Linked DNA regions of Homo sapiens: regions 1, 2, 4 and 5 are each linked to region 3. Evidence: promoter capture Hi-C in 16 types of primary human blood cells and fetal thymus (Javierre and others, 2016). All regions are on one chromosome and are shown on one strand. The core of a region is centred on a gene start or on the middle of the fragment in contact, and the rest is flanking DNA. Distances in the headings are between cores, read along the strand shown.

Region 1 (2,700 bases), core at 135-2,634, 270 kb before region 3:
CCAGCTAATTTTTGTATTTTTGGTAGAGACGGGACTTCACCATGTTGGCCAAGATTGTCTCAATCTCTTGACTGCGTGATTTGCCCGCCTTGGCCTCCCAAAGTGCTGGGATTACAGGCATGAACCACCACGCCCGGCCTAATTTTGCTTTTTAAAAGTTCTGTATTCTTAAATGTATATATACACTGAAAAGAGACTGAAAGAAAATATAGTAAAACTGTTTTAAATAATGTTTAAAATGTTTTAAATCTGAGTAGCAGGTTTATGGGTGTTTTCTGCAGTGAATATGCATTGTTTTTATAATCAAGGGAAAGAAACACACAGGAGTAGGGTCCTCCGCTGTGTCATCTCCTGGACCACACTGTCCCTTGTGCAACCCCCCTGGCGGTACACTGGGTGCGGCCAAAAAGGAGTGGGGGCACTACACACTCTTTGTAATAGAAAAACTGGGCTGGCCTCCTGGCCATTTGTAATAGGAAATGTTACACCACAGACTTCAGTAAATCTGTCCTACTTTAGTTTTAGAGGTTAGTTTTAAATAACACATATCCCAAGAGTGACGCAGTTTTGATGGGCTTGCTTCAGCTTCAAACCATTGAATTTTCTCTACACTTATTTGGAAGCCATTTTTGGAAAGTTACCATTTCTTAGTGTGTTTATACAGTTGAGACAGCGAAATGAATATCCTCCACACATTTCATCCTATAGCCAAATGGCAATATTAGGAAATGTATGCACATTGTTTCTTTAAACTCTTAAATTTTTATGACATTCGTTGGGCCTTCCTAGCAGGCTGTTGAATCCAGGTTTTGCTCATAAAAGCTTCTTTGATGCATTATCGATGTTCTGCTCTGGAATTTTTCTTTGTTCCCAATGAGTCTGTGGAGAGAAGCTTATTTTGGAAAAAGGAACTGTTGAAAAAACAACCTGCTTGTCGGTTATTTCAGAAATTTGTTTACCACATCATATGCCATTGGCTTGGACATACATTGTGAAATAGCCTTTGTTTCTTGCTATTTTGTGCTAAAACTGTTTCCTGTGAGTAACTAGGGTTGTAAAGAAAGGCTAATAAAGGGTAGATGCTCCCTCTAGGGAAGGGAAAAAGTAACTTATTCTCTTGTATAACCTACAAATCTAAAATAAGACACGTGGTGTCTTACGTGGGCAGCAACTTAGTACTGTCTGAGGGGCCAGGTGGTCATTGCCCTTGGATGAGTGTTTATGCAGAAGTCTGTATAAATAATCGGATGGGACTCAAAGACAGTAACCTCAGAAAAGCTGAATGAATTACCCTTGGGGCTGGGAAGGAGATGTTCAGTCAGAGAAAAAAGGGATTCAAAAAAACAGTGCAAGTTATGGCATGGCCAAGCATTCACCGCTGCAGACTCTTGCCCTTCCATCCAGGACCTAGTGGTGGAAAATGTCTTGGTTAATGACAGAAAACGTCACAGCACTCGAAAAGCCCAGAGAGAATAATCCATGTCCATTAAGAAGGGTGAAGCAGATCCATGTCTTCTGAAATGGGCTGACCAGCATGCTTTCTTTTTTAAACCATTTTTTTTTTTAAATGAGACTCACCAACGTTCATAAAGGAGACCTTTGAAAACTCAAATGTGAAGGACTCCTGTAAAATATAAAGTCATGCAGTGACATGTGATTGAAAAACGTAAGCGAACCCTAGGCCCCCAGCAAGAGAGGGCACAGGCTGTGGCAATGTATGTGGAGTTGGTTCCTGCTGGTGGGTTCGTGGTCTCACTGACTTCAAGAATGAAGTCTCGGACCTTCATGGTGAGTGTTACAGCTCTTAAAGGTGGCACGGACCCAAAGAGTGAGTAGTAGGAAGGTTTATTGTGAAGAGCAAAAGTACAAAGCTTCCACACTGTGTAAGGGCACCCAAGCAGGTTGCCGCTGCTGCTGGCTAGGGTGGCCAGCTTTTATTCCCTTATTGTCCCTTCCCATGTTCTGTTTTTGTCCTATCACAATGCCCTTTTTTCAATCCTCTCTGCGATTGGCTACTTTTAGGATCCTGCTGATTGGTGCATTTTACAGAGTGCTGATTGGTACATTTTACAGAGCGCTGATTGGTGCGTTTTATAGGGCACTGATTGGTGCATTTTACAATCCTTTTGCTAGCTACAGAGTGCTGATTGGTACATTTTTACAGAGTGCTGATTGGTGCATTTTACAATCCTCTTGTAAGAAAATTTCTCCAAGTCCCCACTCCACCCAGGAAGTCTAGCTGGCCTCACCTCTCAGCAAGACTGGCAGACGGGTGGGACTGAGCAGTGTGCTGGCTCAGGCACAGCTCAGTGACTGGTGAACACCAAGCTTCAGAATGAGTGCACGGAGCTATGTGCTGTAGACCTTGGGAGTACTCACAAACAATTGGATCTGCAGATTCAAATCCATACACACCAAGCAACAACGTGTGCACCACAGCACTGACCCAGGCACACAGCTTCAATGTGGGCACAGTCACAGCTGCTCAGAATGGATAGCACTGGCACGAATGCACAAGCACAAAGCGTGGAGGTGATGAGAGTGTCTGGTGTGTGTTATAGCTGCAGCCAGCCCATGAGGGCAGAACAGATGCACTTATAGTAGCCATAGAGGGAGGGGAAAGGGGGAATAATTCACAGATTCTGCATTTCTAAATCTTTTCATCTTTGCTTTCCAAAGCTCATTGTTTCTGCAAGGCTA
Region 2 (2,700 bases), core at 83-2,582, 290 kb before region 3:
GAGTAACAGCTCAGCACCTGAAACTGACCTGTGAACAGATGAGCTGGTGTATGTATCTCAACACACATGCCTGTATGTCTTGTTTTGTTTTCTAAGTCTAAAAATCAAAAGAATAAGCTAAAAAAATGATATGTTTGTCTATTAATTATCTTAATTTTCCTATAGAACTATGAGTTTTTCAAAAGCCTCCTACATAGAATACTCTTATTAATATTTCTGAGTTTTTAATATTGCAGGTTAACTTTTAAAAGGGATTTTGAATTTCTACAATAGATTTCATTAGGTGATTACTTAGATTATCTTCTCTCATTTAATTATGCAAAGCATCTAATAAAATGGCAGAAAACTGCCATGTACTGAATGACTGTCTCTTATCACTAAGACTGAGTGTGTTGAAAGCATGCACAAGAAGAGAAAGGAAGGCTTTGCCCATTCTATTCATAGTTGAGCCAAGGGTCTAGGGCTAAAAAGCTTGAACCCAATAACTGGCCCTGAACTGTCTCTTATATACTAGTCCTGAGCCCTATGTGGCTGTTGAGCCCTTGAAGTGTAGCTAGTTGGAATCAAGATGTGTTCTAAGCGTAAAGTACGCACTGGATTCTGAAGACTTGGTATGAAACAGAATGTAAAATACCAGTAATAATTTTTAATATTGATTACATGTTGAAATCATAATTTTGATATGAATTTAAATAAAATACATTGTTTAAATTAATTTTACCTGCTTTTTCTTTCTTAATGTGGCTCTTAGACCATTTAAAATTACACATTTTCAGCAAGGCGCAGTGGCTCACGCCTGTAATCCCAGCACTTTGGGAGGCCAAGGTGGGTGGATCACTTGAGGTCAGGAGTTTGAGACCAGCCTGGCCAACATGGTGAAACTCCATCTCTACTAAAAATACGAAAATTAGCCGGGCGTGGTGGCACACACCTGTAATCCCAGCTATTCAGGAGACTGAGGCAGGAGAATTGCTTGAACCCAGGAGGTGCAGGTTGCAGTGAGCCAAGGTAACGCCACTGCACTCCAGCCTGGGCAACAGAGCGAGACTCCATCTCAAAAAAATAAAGTAAAAATAAAATTACATATTTTCATGATCACATTTATGGCTCACATTATATTAATATTTCCATTGTACAGCACCTCCCTGGACAAGTCTGCATTTTCTGATTTAGGAAAGACGAAATGAAAGCAATTGGAGAGAAACAACTTTTATCCCTAAGTTTCTCTTATTCATAAATCAGATAATTAACCTGTACAATCCCAGCAGTTTCAAATGGGAAAAATCCCCACAGCTTACTTTACTCTATTTCTCAGAGACTGTCCTTTTCTTGGAGAACAGTTTCATGTAATATAATACTTGTCTTTTTTTTCTCCTTTAGCCCTTCTAGTCTGGTGGTGAGTGGTTGATAAACATAATGCAGGGATTTTTGTCTGAAATTCCAGTATCATGTTAATCCTTTTTTTCTCATTTGGTGCCAGTATCATGTTAATTCTACTGGCTTTTGTACATGTATCTGTAATTCTATGTACCTGGAAATAACGAAAAATATTTTATATGGTGATTTGTCGCAGTAATGTCTATCTTATATCAAATTGTGATTATCATAATTCAAAAACAGCCATTAAATAAATGCTGAGCATCTCAGCTTAGGTATTAGGATGGACGAAGGCAGTATCACACATAATCCATATTCTCAAGTAGCCTCTACTCTAGCCAGCAGATGTGTGCTCAGAGTGAAATGATTCAAGAAGAGCAATTGCATGCAGGGACTGTATGGCCAAATGGCTCATAAATGACACTGATAACAAGTGGCTGTTTTGATCTAATAGAGTTCTCATCAGCTCCAACTTCCCCCCGCCCTTCATGGATTCTTCTTGGTTTTAGTAGCTCTGCAAGCATAAACAACCTCTGAAGTATCTTAGAAAAACGATTATATCTGCTTCAAGTTCTTTATTAATCTAGTTGCCTTTAGAACTTTAGCCCTGGTAAACCTGTTATATATGTAAGACAGTATTTTCTGCAACCAAATTGAATAAGAAGAAAGCTGTGTGTTCTGTGTCAGGAGATCTTTGGTGAAAATGGTTGTGCTTAAAAAGACAAATAAATATATTTATAGAAAACCCTACTCAACAGCAGAATGCATTTTTTTTAACTGCACTTGGAACCAAGATAGACCATATAACAAGCTTAAAAGAATTGAAATTATACAAAGCCTGTTTCCTATTATGAAATTACACTAAAAACCAGTAAGAGAGATATCTGAAAATTTCTCAAATATTTGGAAATTAAGCAAAATACTTCTAAACAGCCTGTGGGCCTAAAGATAAAGTCATAAGGGAAAATAGAAAATATTTTTAACTGAAGGAAACTGAAAATACAACCTATCAGAAATTGCAGGTAATACAGTGCCTAGAGGGAAATTAATAGTATTAAAAGCTTGTTAGAGGATGGGTGTGGTAGTTCATGCATGTAATCCCAGCACTTTGGGAGGCCAAGGTGGGAGAACTGCTTGAGACCAAGAGTTCAAGACCAGCTTGGGCAACATAGCAAGACTCCATTTCTACAAAGATCTTTTTAAAAAAATTAGCTTGGTGTAGTGACACGTATCTGTAGCCCTTGCTACTTGGGAGGCTGAGGTGGGAGGATTAATTGAGCCCAGGAGTTCCAGGTTACAGTAAGTTATGATTGTGCCACTGCA
Region 3 (2,700 bases), core at 43-2,542:
CTTGCGCCACCACACACAGCTACTTTTGTATTTCTAGAGAGTTGGTGTTTTGCCATGTTGGCTAGTCTGGCCTTGAACTCCTGACCTCAAGTGATCCACCCACCTCAGCCTCCCAAAGTGCTGGGATTACAGGCATGAGCCACCGTGCCCGGCCTGGAGAAAGGACTTTAAATGACACAAAGTGGGAAGAGCAAGGCTGTGGAGATCTGCTGCCCTGGCTGAGGTAGCTCATGCAATCAGTCTCTCTGAGCCTCAGTCTCCTGATATGTGAAATGGGATGATAATCATACCTCCTACACAAGACAAGTGGCAGGTCAGACGTGAGAATGCACAGGCAGGCCCTTCGCAACTGGATAGGCTCTATACAGGTGTGGAAAGGAGGAGGAGAAAAAAGAGGACGGGCTTCCATGGATGGATAGGGCATCTTTCGGCGTGATGTGTTTTGAGTTCCAAAGCTGGGGAAGAGATTCAAATCTTCAAGAGCTCTTCCAACTTTGAGATTCTCTGATGGTTTCAGGGCTATGGGAGGAAGCGCTTGTGGTCCGTGTCTGTTCCCGGGATTTCGGTTTCTTGGTTTGTGTCTCTGCTGCAGGTCCAGGGAGCTGGGGCAATACCTTGAGAGTCTGAGTTCTTCGTCCCCAGTGACCTGGGGGAGCCCCCCACCCAACCCCCTCCCTCCGCCCCGCCCCAAGGCTCAGGGAAAGGGGAGATCAAAGTGTGGGGTTGGTTCCCTCTAGTGGTCAGTGTTAGCACTGCATCCAGCTGACTCAGGTGGGCCCAGGAGTCGTCAGCAGAAGTGGAATTCAGGACTGAATCATGCTCACAACCCCCACAATCTATTGGCTGTGCTTGGCCCCTTTTCCCAACACACACATTCTGTCTGGTGGGTGGAGGTTAAACATGCGGGGAGGAGGAAAGGAATAGGATAGAGAGTGGGATGTGGTCGATAGGGGTCTCAAGGACTGGCTATCCTGACATCCTTCTCCGCATTCAGGTTGGCCACCATGGCCTGCTGCCAGAGGGCACCCACCTGAACCTTAAAGAGAGGACAAGTTGGGTGGTGTCTGTGGTTGACACTCTGTGCACAACCCTCACAACGCTGGTGACGGTGGGAAGGGAAAGATGACAAGCCAGGGGACATGATGCCAGCATGTGTGGGAGGAGCTTCCAAATTATCCATTAGCACAAGCCCGTCAGTGGCCCCATGCATAAATGTGCACAGAAACAGGTGGGGGCAACAGCGAGAGAGAAGGGGCCAGGGTATAAAAAGGGCCCACAAGAGACCAGCTCCAGCATCCCAAGGCCCGACTCCCCGCACCACTCAGGGTCCTGTGGACAGCTCACCTAGCGGCAATGGCTGCAGGTAAGCGCCCCTAAAATCCCTTTGGGCACAACGTGTCCTGAGGGGAGAGGCGGCGCCCTGCAGATGGGACGGGGGCACTAACCTCAGGTTTGGGGCTTCTGAATGTGAATATCGCCATCTAAGGCCAGATATTTGGCCAATCTCTGAATGTTCCTGGTCCCTGGAGGGATGGAGAGAGAGAAAAAGAAAACAGCTCCTGGAACAGGGAGAGTGCTGGCCTCTTGCTCTGCGGCTCCCTTCTTGCCCTCCGGTTTCTCCCCAGGCTCCCGGACGTCCCTGCTCCTGGCTTTTGCCCTGCTCTGCCTGCCCTGGCTTCAAGAGGCTGGTGCCGTCCAAACCGTTCCCTTATCCAGGCTTTTTAAAGAGGCTATGCTCCAAGCCCATCGCGCACACCAGCTGGCCATTGACACCTACCAGGAGTTTATAAGCTCTTGGGGAATGGGTGCGGGTCAGGGGTGGCAAGAAGGGGTGACTTTCCCCCACTGGGGAAGTAATGGGAGGAGACTAAGGAGCTCAGGGTTGTTTTCTGAAGCGAAAATGCAGGCAGATGAGCATAGGCTGAGCCAGGTTCCCAGAAGAGTAACAGTGGGAGCTGGTCTCCAGCATAGAAAGCAGTGGTCCTTCTTGGTGGGGGGTCCTTCCCCTAGGAAGAAGCCTATATCACAAAGGAACAGAAGTATTCATTCCTGCATGACTCCCAGACCTCCTTCTGCTTCTCAGACTCTATTCCGACATCCTCCAACATGGAGGAAACGCAGCAGAAATCCGTGAGTGGATGCTGTCTCCCCTAGGCGGGGATGGGGGAGACCTGTGGTCAGAGCCCCCGGGCAGCACAGCCACTGCCGGTCCTTCCCCTGCAGAACTTAGAGCTGCTCCACATCTCCCTGCTGCTCATCGAGTCGCGGCTGGAGCCCGTGCGGTTCCTCAGGAGTACCTTCACCAACAACCTGGTGTATGACACCTCGGACAGCGATGACTATCACCTCCTAAAGGACCTAGAGGAAGGCATCCAAATGCTGATGGGGGTGAGGGTGGCACCAGGGGTCCCCAATCCTGGAAGCCCACTGGCTTCGAGGGCTGGGGGAGAGAAACACTGCTGCCCTCTTTTCAGCAGTCAGGCGCTGACCCAAGAGAACTCACCTTATTCTTCATTTCCCCTCGTGAATCCTCCAGGCCTTTCTCTACACCCTGAAGGGGAAGGAGGAAAATGGATAAATGAGAGAGGGAGGGAACAGTGCCCAAGCGCTTGGTCTCTCCTTCTCTTGCTTCACTTTGCAGAGGCTGGAAGACGGCAGCCACCTGACTGGGCAGACCCTCAAGCAGACCTACAGCAAGTT
Region 4 (2,700 bases), core at 200-2,699, 360 kb before region 3:
CCCATCAGTCCTCCACTGCACAGTCTCTTCATTCTTCTTCTTCTTCTTCTTCTTTTTTTTTTTGAGATGGAGTCTCACTCTGTTGCCCAGGCTGGAGTGCAGTGGTATGATCTCAGCTCACTGCAATCTCCATCTCCCGGGTTCAAGCGATTCTCCTGCTTCAGCCTCCCGAGTAGCTGGGATTACAGGCATGCACCACCACGTCTGGCTAATTTTTGTATTTTTAGTAGAGACAGGGTTTTACCATGTCGGCCAGGCTGGTCTCTAACTCCTGACCTCAAGTGATCCACCCACCTCGGCCTCCCAAAGTGTTGGGGTTACAGGCGTGAGCCACTGCACCTGGCCGATTCTTCTTTTTTCTTAGCTCTTCTCCTCAGCCCAGCTCTAGGGAGCCTCTACATTTCCAGCCACATCTATGCTGCATGTGTCAATGACCCTAATCTTCTAATTTCGAAATCCCAGAGCATACTTTCAGGCCTCTTCTAATTTGACCATTCTGTGGCATCTGTTGCTGTTGACTGCTCTCTCTTTCAATCTCTTCTCCCTTGGGTTTGGTGACTCTTACTTGGGTTTTTGTAAACTTTCTGGCTTCTCTTCATAATGAACTTCATCTGGCCACCCCTAAAAACATTATTGGGTTCCCCAAGGGTTCTAAGTGCCTATTCTGTGTCCCCACGGCTCCTGGGCTTCCCTCTAAGGAAGCCTATAATGGTCTATCAACGTGTCAGTTTCTCTACTAGATCTAGCATCTACAAGTGCCTTCATCTCTATCCCCAGTACTCAGCCCGCCACCTGGTACTGAGTGCACAGTGATTGCTCATTAATGGTGTGGCTTGTGGCATGATGATCCCTAATCTTTGTTAGATATACAAGTGGATCAACTTTTTGGTTTTCTGTACTTCTTAACCATTTCTGTCTCCAAGAATGCAATGTCAAAAACAGAATTAAAAATCTTAGGCTGGGCATACTGGCTCATGCCTAATCCCAGCACTTTGGGATACCGAGGCAGGAGGATCATTTGAGCCCAAGGGTTCATGACCAGCCTGGGACAACACAGCAAGACCTCATCTCTACAAAAAGTAGAAAGAAATTAGCCAGGCATGGTGGCGCATGCCTGTAGTCCCAGCTACTCAGGAGGCTGAGGTGGGAGGATCACTGGAACCCAGGAGGTCAAGGCTGCAGTGAGCCATGAGTGTGCCAGTGCACTCTAGCCTGGGTGACGGAGAAAGACCCTGTTTCAAAACAAAAAATAAAATCTTAGAGCATTTTTTGGTTTGTTTAGAAATTGGTGAGAAAATAGGGATTATCTTGAAATGCAATAATTGGGAATCTTTCAAGTATATCAGAACCTATGTGGGCTTAACCTGATAGTTGAAACCTGGGTTTCAAGAGAGCCTGGCATGAGGGTTGAGGGGTTGGGGGTAGAGAAAGAGGGGAGAGTATTAGCTTGGGCTTGCATTTCTGTGACTTAAGATCCTACTCTAGGTGAAAAAATTTAGATCACTTGGTACATGCTATACATATAGAGTAGCTATCTGGGGGACAAAGTAAGGAATCTTGCTTGATATCTGAATTTAGCCTCACAATCCCTAACCTTTTTCAGAGGTACTACAATGAGTCACAGATGCCAAGCTCTAAAATCACTCTTTTAAGCATGATTTGAGCCAGGCACAGTGGCTCACGCCTGTAATCTCAGCAGTTTGGGAGAGGTTGAGGCAAGAGGATCGCTTGCACCCAGGAGTTTGAGACCAGCCCTGGCAACATGGCAAGACCCCATCTCAAAAAAGCCTGGTGGTTACGGTCATGAATGCTGGCTCTTCCTTCAACTAGCCCTGCTATCCTGGACACATCACTAATCTGTGAACTTCAGTTTCTGCATCCATAAAAAGGAGAAAATAATGGTCATATCTACCCTAAAGAGTTACTGTAAGGTTTCAGTGAACTGCTATGTTCCAGGGACTTGGCATAGTACCTGGCACATAGTAACCTCTTAATAGGTAGGAAACAGGCCAGGCGCAGTGGCTCACACCTGTAATCCCAGGACTTTGGGAGGCCGAGGCTGAGGTGGGCAGATCACCTGAGCTCAAGAGTTCAAGACCAGCCTGGCCAACATGGTGAAACCTTGTATCTACTAAAAATAAAAATAAAAAAAATTAGCCAGGTGTGGTGGCGTGTGCCTGTAGTCCCAGCTACTCAGGGAGGCTGAGGCAGGAGAATTGCTTGAAACCAGGAGTTTGAGACCAGCCTGGACAACATGGTCTCAAACTCTTGGGCTCTCCTCCTGAGCGGGGGTTGCAGTGAGCCAAGGTCACGCCACTGCACTCCCGCCTGGGCAACATGACAGAGGCTGACTCCATCTCAAAAAAAAAAAAAAAAAAAAAGGTAGGAAACATTATTGTGTTATGATATGTTCATTTATTTTTCAATGCATCCAAATTCCTCAGATTTCAAAAAGAAGGGATCCTTCTAAGTGTTCATGCTGGATCTTACTGGCTTCTAGTTTGAGATCTGGTTGGTAGTGTATTAATTAATTTAATGCTTACGTGGAGCTTGGTAGGGAAAGGAGGTTGGTGGGCACTCTGAGAGGCACATTGCCAGCTTCCAAGGACCTTTGCAAGGGGCAGCTCCAGGGCCCCTACCCTTTCTCTCTCTCTCTCCCTGAGGCAGGGGGCTGAAGATGTGGCCAAGGAGAGCTTCAGG
Region 5 (2,700 bases), core at 170-2,669, 390 kb before region 3:
TCTTCAGCTCCTTCCCATCTGGTCAGACCTCTCACCCAGACAGTTGCCATCTCTGGCTCTTCATAACTGGCAGTACCCAGTGAGAAAATAACAGAGCTTGGCCCGGCTTAGTGGCTCAGCACTTTGGGAGGCCGAGGCAGGTGGATCGCTTGAGGCCAGGAGTTCAAGACCAGCCTGGCCAACATGGTGAAACCCTGTCTCTACTAAAATTACAAAAATTAGTTGAGTATGGTGGTGCACGCCTGTAATTCCAGCAACTCAGAAGGCTGAGGCACAAGAATAGCTTGAACCCAGGAGGTGGAGATTGCAACAAGCTAAGATTGCACCACTGCACTCCAGCCTGGGTGACAGAGCAAGACTCTGTCTCAAAAAAAAAAGACAGAAAATAACAGAGCTTTAGGAATAAGATGAAGATGTAATCTCAGGCATTAGCATCACCCTGGAATCCTACAGGGGTAGATCCTGCCTTAGTGCAAATGGTTTAGGGGGCCCTTTGATCTTCTCTCTGCCATTCCTATTCCAGCCAATCAGCTTCTTTTATTTTCTCTCTGTTAACCATTAACTCAACATTGCTCTGCCTGACCCCCAGCTCCACCTATTACTTCTGAGCTGATAACCAAGTCAGAGAATAAAATATTATCTTATATTTATATCATGCTTTACAATTGACTGAGCTCTTTCTGATAATGTTCTCAATAAGCCTCATTCTATCATGTGAAGAAGGTATGATCCCATTTTAGAGCAGGGAAAATAAAGTTCAGAGAGGTCAAGCAACTTGCCCATGATCACACAGCTGGTTGACAGAGGTTTTACAACTAGCCCACTTCCCCTGCTATCCAACAACTTAGAGCAGAGGTTTACAAATGTTAGCTGCATATTAGAATCACCTGGAGATCTTTAAAAAGCTGATGCCTGGGTCCCATCCTCAAACATTCTCATTTAATTGGTCTGGGGTGAATTTGGACACTGGGAGGTTTTTAAAGCTGCCCAGGTGATTCTAATGTTTAGCCAGGGCCAAGAATCACTACTAAGCATGGCCTCTCTAAGACTGTCCAGACCTTTCATGGGAAACTCTTTAATACCAAAGCTCTTCAGGAATCAAAGGAATGTTGAATGGTGAGTTTCCGTGTGTGTGTGTGTGTGTGTGTGTGTGTGTGTGTGTGGTGTGTGGTGTGTGTGTGTGTTTCCTTTCTTTTTTTTTTTTTAGATGGAGTTTCACTATTGTTGCCCAGGCTGGAGTGCAACGGCATGGTCTCAGCTCACTGCAGTCTCCACCTCTCGGGTTCAAGCTGTTCTCCTGCCTCAGCCTCCTGAGTAGCTGGATTTACAGGCGCCCACCACCACGCCCGGCTAATTTTTTTTTTTTTTTTTTTTTTTTTTTTTGAGACGGAGTCTCGCTCTGTTGCCCAGGCTGGAGTGCAGTGGCGGGATCTCGGCTCACTGCAAGCTCCGCCTCCCGGGTTCACGCCATTCTCCTGCCTCAGCCTCCCAAGTAGCTGGGACTACAGGCGCCCGCCACTACGCCCGGCTAATTTTTTGTATTTTTAGTAGTGACGGGGGTTTCGCCATGTTGGCCAGGCTGGTCTCGAACTCTTGACCTCAGGTGATCCACCCGCCTCGGCCTCCCAAAGTCGTGGGATTACAGGCATGAGCCTCTGTGCCCAGCCTCAGTCTTTTTTCTATTTATTTATCCACCCTGGCTATGTGTGTTACATGAGGACAGGGGCTCTGTGTGGCATGCCTTTTTATCCACAGTATCTGGCATGTGGTAGGTCCTCAGTGAATATTGATTGAATAAATTATTTCCTTTTACATAAACAGGATTGTTTTGTACAGGGATATTTTTCCTCTGCCTGCTATTCTCATTTAACAGCAGATATTTATTTATTGTCTATACAGGTCTGTCTTATCGTTTTGGGTGTTTCGCCTCATTATTTTTAACTGCCTGGTATCCCACAGTATGGAAGGACCCTCATTTATTTAACCAGTTGCCTGTTAATAGGTTTTTGTTTGTTTGTTTGTTTTCTAACAGTAGGGAAAGTCCTTGCAAATAGCATTATGCACATGTCTAAGTATTCTCTAGGATCGATTTCCAGAACGGTAGCTGTGGGTCAGAAGATGAGCATATTGAACATTTGAATGAACATTGTCCTCCTTTGGACTTGGTCATGGCAGTCTTCCCTCCTGGAAACTTCTCTTTCCCAGCTACACTGTAGATCCTGGAGCACAGGGGAGGTAATAATGGCCTTTTCCATTCCTTTTTTTTTTTTTTTTTTTTAGACGGAGTCTTGCTCTGTCACCCAGGCTGGAGCGCAGTGGCACGATCTCAGCTCACTGCAAGCTCTGCCTCCCGGGTTCACGCCATTCTCCTGCCTCAGCCTCCCGAGTAGCTGGGACTACAGGCGCCCGCCACCACGCCCGGCTAATTTTTTGTATTTTTAGTCGAGACGGGATTTCACCATGTTAGCCAGGATGGTCTCGATCTCCTGACCTCGTGATCCGCCCGCTTCAGCCTCCCAAAGTGCTGGGATTACAGGCGTGAGCCACTGCGCCCGGCGGCCTTTTCCATTCTAAGGCAGGAATGAACTGTCCAGGCAAACTTCAAGAAACTCTGCCAGGGTGCCCTTGCTTGCCAGAGATGGATGGAGGAGGAAAGGGTGAAAACATGAAATATGACAGCTAAGAACATTGAGCTTCGGG

What was found. The method cuts DNA at HindIII sites, captures the fragments that hold promoters and counts their contacts. A CHiCAGO score of 5 or more calls a contact.
Region 1: a contact is called between a fragment that was not itself captured here and the fragment with the promoter of CSHL1 in region 3, in 1 of 17 cell types (activated CD4 T cells). The highest score is 5.2, in activated CD4 T cells.
Region 2: a fragment that was not itself captured here is called in contact with the fragment with the promoter of CSHL1 in region 3 in 2 of 17 cell types (activated CD4 T cells and naive CD8 T cells); the score reaches 5.3 in activated CD4 T cells.
Region 4: a contact is called between a fragment that was not itself captured here and the fragment with the promoter of CSHL1 in region 3, in 2 of 17 cell types (endothelial precursors and naive CD8 T cells). The highest score is 6.0, in endothelial precursors.
Region 5: a fragment that was not itself captured here is called in contact with the fragment with the promoter of CSHL1 in region 3 in 2 of 17 cell types (M2 macrophages and naive CD8 T cells); the score reaches 5.4 in M2 macrophages.

What each region holds. Positions count from the first base shown.
Region 1 is chr17:64,178,635-64,181,334 of GRCh38, reverse strand. All of the region lies in intron 5 of TEX2 (testis expressed 2), which reads left to right. Among named protein-coding and RNA genes, the nearest start is that of SNORA50C, 34 kb to the right of the region's middle. The HindIII fragment of the contact is 979 bases long and covers 895-1,873 here.
Region 2 is chr17:64,197,611-64,200,310 of GRCh38, reverse strand. The region is part of intron 2 of TEX2 (testis expressed 2); the gene reads left to right. Among named protein-coding and RNA genes, the nearest start is that of SNORA50C, 53 kb to the right of the region's middle. The HindIII fragment of the contact is 1,717 bases long and covers 474-2,190 here.
Region 3 is chr17:63,909,850-63,912,549 of GRCh38, reverse strand. CSHL1 (chorionic somatomammotropin hormone like 1) reads left to right here and starts at 1,292. Exons shown (of 5, transcript NM_022579.3): 1 at 1,292-1,363; 2 at 1,626-1,805; 3 at 2,015-2,130; 4 at 2,224-2,388; 5 at 2,642-2,700. The coding sequence starts at 1,354. It overlaps LOC112268204 (a long non-coding RNA gene), which reads right to left and starts at 630. Exons shown (of 3, transcript XR_002958148.2): 1 at 291-630. The HindIII fragment of the contact is 23,854 bases long and covers 1-2,700 here.
Region 4 is chr17:64,265,413-64,268,112 of GRCh38, reverse strand. No RefSeq gene overlaps it. Among named protein-coding and RNA genes, the nearest start is that of TEX2, 3.5 kb to the right of the region's middle. The HindIII fragment of the contact is 6,256 bases long and covers 1-2,700 here.
Region 5 is chr17:64,300,780-64,303,479 of GRCh38, reverse strand. No RefSeq gene overlaps it. Among named protein-coding and RNA genes, the nearest start is that of TEX2, 39 kb to the right of the region's middle. The HindIII fragment of the contact is 2,881 bases long and covers 1-2,700 here.